2 separate regions of the Homo sapiens genome follow, and region 1 is linked to region 2. Evidence: promoter capture Hi-C in human tissues and cell types (Jung and others, 2019). All regions are on one chromosome and are shown on one strand. Each heading gives the region's core, a stretch centred on a gene start or on the middle of the fragment in contact. The rest is flanking DNA. Distances are from core to core; before and after follow the strand shown.

The links. The method cuts DNA at HindIII sites, captures the fragments that hold promoters and counts their contacts. A contact is called where the count stands out against the background at its distance.
Region 1: a fragment that was not itself captured here is called in contact with the fragment with the promoter of SLC2A1 in region 2 in 1 of the 25 tissues and cell types used here (spleen).

The regions. Positions count from the first base shown.
Region 1 is chr1:43,707,968-43,713,261 of GRCh38, reverse strand. The region is part of intron 1 of ST3GAL3 (ST3 beta-galactoside alpha-2,3-sialyltransferase 3); the gene reads right to left. It overlaps ST3GAL3-AS1 (ST3GAL3 antisense RNA 1), which reads left to right. Exons shown (of 4, transcript NR_125986.1): 4 at 3,727-3,870. Among named protein-coding and RNA genes, the nearest start is that of ST3GAL3, 3.1 kb to the right of the region's middle. RefSeq lists a silencer at 5,259-5,294. The HindIII fragment of the contact is 7,412 bases long and covers 1-5,294 here.
Region 2 is chr1:42,955,886-42,961,429 of GRCh38, reverse strand. It overlaps SLC2A1 (solute carrier family 2 member 1), which reads left to right and starts at 2,562. Exons shown (of 10, transcript NM_006516.4): 1 at 2,562-2,796. The coding sequence starts at 2,779. It overlaps SLC2A1-DT (SLC2A1 divergent transcript), which reads right to left and starts at 2,381. Exons shown (of 4, transcript NR_033967.1): 1 at 1,853-2,381. RefSeq lists silencers at 2,206-2,389, 2,262-2,671, 2,802-3,441. The HindIII fragment of the contact is 6,533 bases long and covers 93-5,544 here.

The sequences.
Region 1 (5,294 bases), core at 1,764-4,263, 750 kb before region 2:
CAAGGTGACACAATAGAAACTGGCCAGGCTATGACTGAAATCCTGGTCTGCTGCTCATCTAGCCCTAGGAAGCACACAGACATGCCGCTCACATGTTGCACCAGCGTAACTATCCTTCCGTCCAGTCTTACCTCATTCTAACCTTCATCCTGCATAAATATTTTATGACTCTTGTGTAGTAGGCATGGTACTATGGATGCAAACCTCAGAACTCCCCATGTGAGGGAAATAGCTATTCACTATTCTGCCTCTTCCACACAGTGATGTTCCTGAAAGGCAAAGCTGACAAAGTAGTCACTTTCTATCTTCAAATCCTTCAGTGGCACCTAATCACCTTCAGGATAAAGCTCTAACTTCATAACTCACAAAGACCTTCACAATCTATTCTTGACCGATTTCTGCAGCCTCATTTCCCACACACTCCCCCAACAGGCTCCATACTCCTGCCACACCAGTGTCTTTAGGATGTAGCCACATTCTTTGCTTCTAGGCCACAGCACACATTGTTGCCTGTGTGAAAAGCCTTTTAAACCCATATCCACCCAGCTAATAACTACTGATTTTTCAAGATGTAGGTCAGATGTGAACTTCCCTAGAAAACCAGTACTCATATTCCCCACGATATCAGGTGCGCTTTTAGAAGATCCCACAAGACCCTCAACCACAGCCCTTGTTATAATGTATTCTGCTTCTGGTTATAATGTATTCTTTACTTGCTTCTGGTCCTACTAGACTGGAGGTTCTTTGAGGCCAGGGACATGTCCTTCATACCTATCAAGCCACCACCTAGCACAGAGCCTGGCAGAGCTTATGTTCAGTACACATTTGTGGATGATGAGAGCACCTGGTCTAGTAGGAGAGAAAGAAATGTATACACTCACATAAAATATGAAAAATGTGAAAATAAGAGATCGTAGGGATGCTGTCCAAGGGAGAAAAAAGGTGGGGAAATCCAGGGGAACCCTTCTACCTGTATTTCTGAGGGCTCCTTACCTGATTTCTCAAGTTTCTTCTAACCTTGCTGCAGCTGGTTAGAAGCACTGTGATCATGAGTGCTTACTGTGAACCACGTGCTCTGCAAAGCACTTTACATGAACTGACTTGTTTAATTCTCACAACTGCCCCATGCATTTCACTGATGAGGAAACTTAGGCTCAAAAATAAGATTCCTGCTTAATGTCAGACAACTATTAATAGTGGAAGAGCCAAGATCTGAACCCAAATCTGTTTCCTGAACCAGGGCTCCAACCAGCACTGTTTCTATTGTCTGTCAAAAGTGAAACCTCCTCCCCAAATACCAAGTTTGCTAGGTTCAATTAAACCAGTAAGGTTAAACTAAGATTACTTTTTAATTTTAACCATTTGAGTGAAAATGCACCTAAAATTATTACACATTTCCCAATTTCTTATAAATTGAATACCCTGAATATAATTTAACTTTTATTTTTTGCTATCTCAGAACCATTGCTGTATTTGTTACTAAGAATGCTGTAACATAGTAAGTTTTGTAAAAGACATTCCTCAGGAATGACTGTGTCATAACTCGGATGTAACAGATTGCCCTTGTATCAACACCCTTGGCCTGTGAGCATTTACAAGTGCTTGGAAGAGTTTTGACTCTGAATCTACCATTACCCCATGCCTGGTTAGAGCTATTATTTCTTGCTACTGTCAATGTTTGTCTCTAGCAGCCCATCTGATGTGCTACCTCTAATCTTCAATGGGCTGTGATACCCCAGATGAGGTAGTAGTCATTAGTGCTATGCACCAAATATTTCTGGCTCTTTGCTTCCCAGACATATGCTAACACTGAAATTCTCTAACCTTCTTTAAAGTTAGGCATGGCTATGTGACTTGCTTTGGCCAATGAAAATGTGAATGAAAGTGGCATGTGCCATAGTGGGACAGAAACTTGAAAAGCCAGTGTCCACTTGACCACTATCTTTTCATTTAATCAAAATGGTCATGGCAGTACCATATTAAGATGGAGTTTCTATCAGCCTCAGTTCCTGAGTAACTGTGAAGAGTTTCCTGTACACTCATGCTGGACACGTCACATGAATGAGAAGTCAAGTTTTGTTCTGTTACGCCACTGAAGTCTTGAGGTTTTTGTTAGTGCAGCCTAATCCAAGCTATCTATGTCAATACAGATCTCTCAGTAAGGGATTCTCTCACATAAACAACTTTATTTATAGATTTTAATGATAAACATTTTGTTTGGATAAAGAATTATCTCTGCATCCATCCTGATTCAAAGCTATTTTCAATATAAAATATATTTGCCAAGTACCTACTATGTACAAAGTTGGATGATGAAGAGGACAGTCTATGTCTTGAAATAGCTTCAGTCTTATACTGTGGGTAGAAGCAGGATTTAAGGCAATTATCGCAAAAAGGCAGACTCTAATGTTATGGTGGTTTAAACTTAAAGAAGAGAGACAGCTCATCTAGATGGGAAGAAAAAGTACAGATAAGCTTCACAAAGGAAGTTCCGTATCAAATGGCCCTGAAACATACGTAAGAACAATTAAAGTCAAGGAGACTATTTAAGATAGAAAAAGCCAACATGAGCAAAGATACAGAGCACAAACAGCAAAGCACAAAGAGCAAATAGTTCCATTGACCTGGAAAATATAACAGAATGGCAAGAAATCAGTTTGCCCATATTGCCCATGCCAGGCTGGTCTGTGCCTAACGCAACAGATAATGGGGAGCCATTCAAAGTCCTGGCTGGAGAAGTGACAAACTTGGAAGTGATGGCAATACACATGATGGATGGAAGGAAAAAAATGTTAGGGGGTTTCTGTGGTAATTCACAGGAATGGTCCAATGGCCCCAGATCAGTGTGATGACAGTAGGAGTGAAAAGAAGCAGATGCCAGGCTAGGTATGGTGGCTCATGCCTATAATCCCAGCACTTTGGGAGGCTAAGGTGGGCAGATCACTTGAGATCAGGAGTTCAAGATCAGCCTGGCCAACATGGTGAAACCCCGTCTCTATTAAAAATACAAAAATTAGCCGGGTGTGGTGGCACACGCCTGTCGTCCCAGCTACTCAGGAGGCTGAGACGGGAGAATTACTTTAACCCAGGTGGTGGAGGTTGCAGTGGGCTGAGATGGGGCCACTGCACTCCAGCCTGGGCAACAGAGGGAGGCTCTGACTCAAAAATAGAAGCAGATGCCAGAAACAGTGTGGAAGTAGGGTCAACAAGACCTGGCACCCAACCAAAAACACGGGGAGAAAAAAAGAAGAAAAGTAAGAATAAACTTGAGGTGCCGCTTCTGGGTTGAGAGAACTGTTATTCCAAGTAGCTGAGGTGAATCAGAAAAGCGACAATGGGCTAGGTGTGGTGGCTCACGCATATATTCTCAACACTTTGGGAGGCTGAGGTGGAGGATTTCTTTCTTTCTTTTTTTTGACCGAGTTTCACGCTTGTTGCCCAGTCTGGAGTGCACTGGCGCGATCTCGGCTCATTGCAACCTCCACCTCCCGGGTTCAAGCGATTCTCCTGCCTCAGCCTCCCGAGCAGCTGGGATTACAGGCGCCTGCCACCACGCCTGGCTAATTTTTTGTATTTTTTTTTTGGTAGAGACGGGGTTTCATCATGTTGGCTAGGCTGGTCTCGAACTCAAGGTGGGAAGATTTCTTGAGCCCAGGAGTTCAAGAACAGCCTGGGCAACATGACAAGACCCTGTCTCTACAAAAAAAATTTTTTTTAATTCTCCAGGTCACCTGCCTGTGGTCCCAGCTACTTGGGAAGCTGAGGTGGGAGGATCGCCTGAGTCCAGAAAGTCAAGGCTGCAGAGAGCCACATTCACTGCACTCCAGCATGGGTGACAGAGGGAGACCCTGTCTCAAAAAAAAAAGAAAAAAGAAAAAGTGACAATGACAAGTAAAGTGTTACTGTATTCCTGATAGTTAGCTACAGCTTCCTTTGAAGTAAATTCTATTACTTGTTTACTCTTTGCACCACACAGGACAAAGGTACCTCTTGGATTAATGCCATCAACCTACCTTTTGTGCAACCTCATATCCTGCTTTTTCTGCTAAGAAACCCCCTGGAACCACCCATGAGCATCTCAGGTTCCCCTGCACCTTTGTCATCCTCACTTTCTCATCTGCTCACTTCTTCCCCTTCATACAGCCGGCTACCCACTCTTCATGACCCAATTCAAGCCTCAGCTTCCCTGTGAAACCTTCCTCAAACACATGGATTTCTCCTTTTCTCGGTTTCTCAGAGTACCTACCATCTTGGAATTCTAGAGACCATATCACAGTTATCATTGTCATGTGTGTGCTTTATTCCCTCAAGTATATTATAGGCCCATTAGAGCAAGTTTCTTATCTTAAATGGTTTTGAGTTTCCCCTCAGTCAATGCCTTGCATAAAATATGTACTCAAGAGGCGTTCCATTGATTGATACAAAGTCTGTTAGTCTCTGAGAACATGAATGTCTTGTTTCATCGTTAACATTTTATTTTTATTAAACCATGGTTAGACAGTTAGACACGCGAAATGGAGAGATTCACCACTTAATATCTCAAAATATCCTTAAGAATCTCTAATCATAGGAGGAGCTGTATTGCCTTAAGAGATTATTTGAAAGTATCATTTGGCTATAAATTTCTGTGCCAGCTTCCTTTTAATCCTCTGTTGACTTGAAAGTACACCAAACATTTCAGTGATCATCTCTACAAGATAATTCTGCCTTAGAAACAACCTAATTTGTCATGGGGACTATCTTACTTTTAGTAACCTAATAAGAGTTTTTTCCTACCTTAATGTCCAGCTATCTATAATTCACAGTACATCCACTGAAAAGTTTGAGTATTTTACTTTCTGAGGTAATAGCCGCCTTCACTGGTCCTTCCCTCAATTAATTACATTCAGTTATCAGGTTTCACTCCTTCCTCATACGTGAAGGAAACATAAATGAGGCTTACTGAGGAATCATAAAAATGGACATTGTTGTAAAAAGGAATCCAAAATGTTCATGGGACACTCTCCTAACCAAACCTGCCCTCCTCACTAAGATATTTTCTCTTGCAAGCAAAAGCACCGAGGACACAACGGGGGAAAGTGCCAGAAGGAAAGGAAGCAAGAGAGGCGTACTTTGCCGATCAAACTGACCCCAGTTCTGGCCCCCGCTAGAGCAGTAAGCAATGACAACCGCTACCCAAACGCTGCCGATTCCCGCTCAGGCGCTCCCTGGACTTTTCTTTCCTTTTCCCACAGCAGGGCCCGAATGACGGTGTCCGTGCTCTGCGCCAAGGTGCGCAGCGCTGCGGGGTTTCA
Region 2 (5,544 bases), core at 1,313-3,812:
GTCCCTGGGAAAGTGGCCAGCATGGGGCTGGCCCAGAGAAGGACAAGGTGGCTGTTTGGTGAGTGTGACCCATGGGCTGAGTAAGGCAGACCCGCAACTGGGAAAAGGCATAGACTGGATGTGCTAAGAAACAAGGAGCTGTGGAGAGACTTTGAGGAGGGAAGTAGCAAAACCCAAAAGGTACTTAAGGAAAGACTGGAAGTATCAGCAGGACGGACTGGAGGGGAAGGAACATTCAACACAGGTAGATTAGCTGCTCACTCATTCGTGCATTCCTTCCCTCCTTCAGTCATTCACCCACGTGCCTCAGCTGCAGAACCTGTCCTCAAGGTGCTCACAGGCTGAGGGAAGGCAGACAGAGGACAAGTGGCAACCTACAAAACACCAAATGGTAAAGGAGAGAAAGATTTCCACTTGGGAGAACCAGGGACACTTCCCGGAGGAGGAAGGACCCATGGTGCTTTTTGGCATGGTGAGGTCGGGGAGGGCTTCCCAGGCAGAGGAGACAAGCTGAGCAAATGTGTGGATGTGAGTTGCTGGTGTGAGGGGCGAGGCTGAGCGTGTAAACTGGTGCCATGAAGAAGGACCGTGATGGCCAGGCTTGGCCCTTACTCCCTCCATGACAATTTCAGACAGATGAGCAGGAGAGTGGCAGGGTGCAGGACTGGAGGACAAAAGACCAGAGGAGATGGAGGCCCTGCAGACAGCAGGGGAGGGAAGGAGGATGAGGTGGTGTAGACAGCGGAGTCAGCAGGACTTGGTCTGTCCAGGGGTGAGGAGAGAGGTGGCCCAAGCTTTCCAGGCTGAGCATAGAGAGACCACAGGAATTGAAGCCTTGGGCAGGGGGGTGCCCAGAATGCACCTGCCTTCTGTTTCAGGGCTCCATACTCAACCAAGGTGCCCCTCAGCCAGAACTGGACACATTGCCAGAGAACTCCAGGGGTCATCTGGTCGGCTCAGCCTCCCGGTTTCCGACAGACAGTAAGCCCACCATGACTCCCTCCATCGGGAAAGGGACCCTCAAGACTTTGATCAGACCTTTGGACTGGGGGTCCTTCCCTTCACTGTGTCTCAAGTAAGGCACTGGTCTAGAGGAAATAAGGTGAAGTCAGATGATAGCAATACCACTACCAGTGCAGTGGCACATGCCTGCACTCCCAGCTACTACGGAGGCTAAGGTGGGAGGATCACTTGAGCCCAGGAGTTTGAGACCAGCATTTATTTATTTACTAACAGACTAAATAAATAAACCAACAATACCACCAACCAGTAAATGAGAACTTCCATGCTAAACACTTCATGAGCTTATCTGGAAATTGCACCTCTCCTGATAGCAATGAGATTGGTGTGGGAATTCCATTTACTCATAAGAAGACAGCCTCGGCCGGGCTCAGTGGCTCACGCCTGTAATCCCAGTACTTTGGGAGGCGAGGTGGGTGGATCACGAGGTCAAGAGTTCAAGACCAGCCTGGCCAAAATGGTGAAACCCCGTCTCTACTAAAAATAAAAATAATTAGCCAGGGGTGATAGCGGGCGCCTGTAATCCCAGCTACTCGGGAGGCTGAGGCAGAGAACTGCTTGAATCCGGGAGGCGGAGGTTACAGTGAGCCGAGATCGTGCCGCTGCACTCCAGCCTGGGCGACAGAGCGAGACTCTGTCTGAGAAAAAAAAAAATTAAAGAAAAAAACGAAAACAGCCTCACTGGCCAGGAACTCGCCCAGGATCGCGGCCGGGCCAGTATACAGTTGAGCTGGTTCAAACCCGAGGTCTATCATGTCCTTAATGTCCTATCATGTCAGTCAGTTAGCCTGCCTTTCATATTTTCCACACTTACAGGTCACCATAGACTCACCTGAACTGTGAGAAGTAGAGGAAGGCGTCCCAGAGGAGGTGATTTTAAAGCCCAGGTTTGAGATGGGTATGCATTTCCAGGCAAGAGAGCCCGGCCGGTGCAAAAGCAAGGCTTGGCTCACAAACGGGAATGTGGGGGGTGGAGACAGGGAAGGGAGAAGTCAATCCCTGGGCAAGACCTCCTGGAGTCTCTCTAACAAATAAATACTACTTTCCATGCAGTAGACGCTGTTCTAAACACTTTACAAATATTAACTCACTTGGTCTTTCTACAACCCTACGAGGTGGTACTGTTACTATCCCTAGTGCACCGAAGTCACCCAGCGGCCGAGTGAGAACTCCAGTCCAGCTTTCCACCCGCTACTCCGCGCATCCCAGCTTGCCTTACAGCCGGGTACCGGCTCCACCATTTTGCTAGAGAAGGCCGCGGAGGCTCAGAGAGGTGCGCACACTTGCCCTGAGTCACACAGCGAATGCCCTCCGCGGTCCCAACGCAGAGAGAACGAGCCGATCGGCAGCCTGAGCGAGGCAGTGGTTAGGGGGGGCCCCGGCCCCGGCCACTCCCCTCACCCCCTCCCCGCAGAGCGCCGCCCAGGACAGGCTGGGCCCCAGGCCCCGCCCCGAGGTCCTGCCCACACACCCCTGACACACCGGCGTCGCCAGCCAATGGCCGGGGTCCTATAAACGCTACGGTCCGCGCGCTCTCTGGCAAGAGGCAAGAGGTAGCAACAGCGAGCGTGCCGGTCGCTAGTCGCGGGTCCCCGAGTGAGCACGCCAGGGAGCAGGAGACCAAACGACGGGGGTCGGAGTCAGAGTCGCAGTGGGAGTCCCCGGACCGGAGCACGAGCCTGAGCGGGAGAGCGCCGCTCGCACGCCCGTCGCCACCCGCGTACCCGGCGCAGCCAGAGCCACCAGCGCAGCGCTGCCATGGAGCCCAGCAGCAAGGTGAGTCGCGCGCCCGCGGGCCCTCCCGCCAGGAACAAAGGCGCAGACTCCTGCCCGCCTTACGCCGGCCAGGGCCTCCCCCGCCGCCCCGCTGCGCTGTGCGCCCGGGGCGGGCCGCGCGCCTCTCCGAGCCTGGCTCGGTGCGGGTCCCGAGCGCAGCGCCCCGCCGGGCCGCTGGCCGCAGTGGGGATGGGCTTCGGATCTAGCGGGCCGGAGGGCGCCGCGTGCGTAGTTGGCGCCGGCACTGAGCACATGGCCTCCTTCCGGGGGCGCCGCGCCGTCCACGCGGCCCTGCTGGGGCTGGGGACACAGGGCCCGGGAGCGGCACGTCGCACACGACCTCGGCAGCAGCAGCCCAGCCTCGGCCCCTCCCGGTGCGGGGGAGGGGGCCCGAGCGCGGCGCCCATTGGCTGAGCGGGCCGAGCCCCCGGCCCGGCCCCGGCCCCGGCGCGCGGAGGAGTCAGGAGCCGCCCCCGCTCTCCGTCTGCTCCCCTAGCCCGGACGCCCCTGTAGGTGGGCGGCCTGGTGCGAGGTGTCCCACCGGCCTCCCCTACTCCTCCCGCCAGTCCCCCGCGGTGACGAGGCCGAGGCCGAGGGGAGGGCACTTTTCTCCAGGCCCGGGCTCGAACGCGGGGGTTGAGATGAACCTCCGGTCTCGGAGGCTCTCCTTTGCGAGGAGTGCAGGCCCCAAAGCTTTGGCCCAGTCTCGCGGAGATGTGTTCCGCGGAGGCAGGTTTACCCTCGGGGCCAGGCGGGGAGCGCAACCGGAGGGGCGGGGGATCTGGGGGCCAGGAAAGAGCCCCAGGCTGAAGTCTAGCGGGAAGCGCGCACGCCACGGGGTTGGGGAATGAGGGATGGGGACTCTGGGGACCAACAACTCCCTAGATAGGATTTCTTTTTTTCTGTGTAAGTGGGCTTGTCCTGCAGGGCATCTTTGTAGCGTCCGCAGAGCGATTTCTTTTCAACAAATTGTTTGTGGAGCCCCTCCTGTGTGTAGGGCATTGTTTCTTTCCACCTCCTTTCCTCCCCCTAGTCTACAATATTTTCAAGTCCCCTTTTTCTTTTGAAACGGTCCCTCTTTATCTATTATACTTTGATTTTTCCATCTCGTCAGCTGGGAGGGCACCTGGATGGCCCTTGTTTTCTTAGCTGGGACGCGGGGGTAGCACTGAATTTTGAACTGCCCTTCCTACTGGCTGTGGAGGTGTCCCGCTGAGACTGAGCGGGGTGGCGCTGGGCCGCACCCTCGGCAGGAAAAGGCCTTCCGCCCCACACCTGTTGAATCCATAAATCCAGACGACTTGGTTCACCCTTCCTGGGCCCTCGCTTGAGGTGAGACCCCGGGGAAGTTCCCGGGGAAGGCTCCCAGGATCTTAGGTGAGCCGTAAGGGTGGGATATAACTAAACAAAAGTTCAGTGAGAAGCTCTTCTAGCTAGTGGCAAGGAAGTCCAAATATCTCAGGGCTCTTGCAGGCCACTTAACTTCTGGGCCTCAGTTTTTCCATCTGAAAGAGATCACTTTTGTCACTTCCTCTAGGGAAGGAACTATCTATTCAGCATACTATGCCAGACATGGGTATTTATTTGTTGAGTGGATAAGGGAATACTACGTGGAGACAGAAAAGTGGAGGAGAAAATCAGCAGGTTCTTAGCCAAACTACTTTAAGCGTCACGGACCTTATAGCCCTGCTGGTTACTCACTAGCCTGGAGCTCAGAGAAGGGAAATAAGTTTGCCAAAGTCACACAGCTAGTAAGTGGTTGAACTGGATTTGAACCCAGGCCCATCAGATTTAATTTCATTTCTGTCTCCACTGTCTCTCTTCACCACAACATTTCTTGAATTTTGGGCAGAAGGGAGAGAGTTTGCCTATCTTCAAAGGTGGCCCCTTGTGCCAGCTGGTTCTAAATAGTGTAGCAGGTGGGTGCTCTTCATGGAGTGTTCTCCAAGTTTTCCACTGTCTACCTCGTCAGTAATTAATGTTGGAACACCTCTTTCACAGTGGTGTATCTGTATTTTTATTTTTTTATTTTTATTTATTTATTTTTTGAGACGGAGTTTCGCTTTTGTTGCCCAGGCTGGAGTGCAATGGCGCGATCTCAACTCCCTGCAACCTCTGCCTCCCGGGTTCAAGCGTTTCTTCTGCCTCAGCCTCCCGAGTAGCTGGAATTACAGGCATGTGCCACCACACCCAGCTAATGTTTTTTTTTTTTTTTTTTTTTTTTTTGTAGTTTTAGTAGAGACGGGGTTTCTCCATGTTGGTCAGGCTGGTCTCGAACTCCCGACCTCAGATGATCTGCCCGCCTCGGCCTCCCAAAGTGCTGGGATTACAGGCCTGGGATTACAGGCGTGAGCCACCACGCCCGGCTGTATTTTTAAATTCATGCACATGCAGTTTGATACTAACAGATGATATGCCTTCATAAAATAGAAATTTCAAAAGACAGATAGATACAAGACAGCAGTTATAGTCATTTTCCCCTCCAAATCTTGTGTAGATCATTCCATATACATTCTGGAATAAAGCCCTTCCCTTTGGAGACTGCTGATTTGACCTGCAAGCACAGCCTTTTTGTGCATGATGTTAGAGGCCTGGGGAGGTCATATCGCTTGCCTTTCACACAAGATCTGAAAACCAGGTGTGTCTGGCTCCAAAGCCTTGGTTCTGCTATGTTCCTCTTTGTCTCCTAGGAAATGGGAACTGACTTAACTAACTTCCCCGTGTTCCATTGTGCTCCTCTGTAACTCA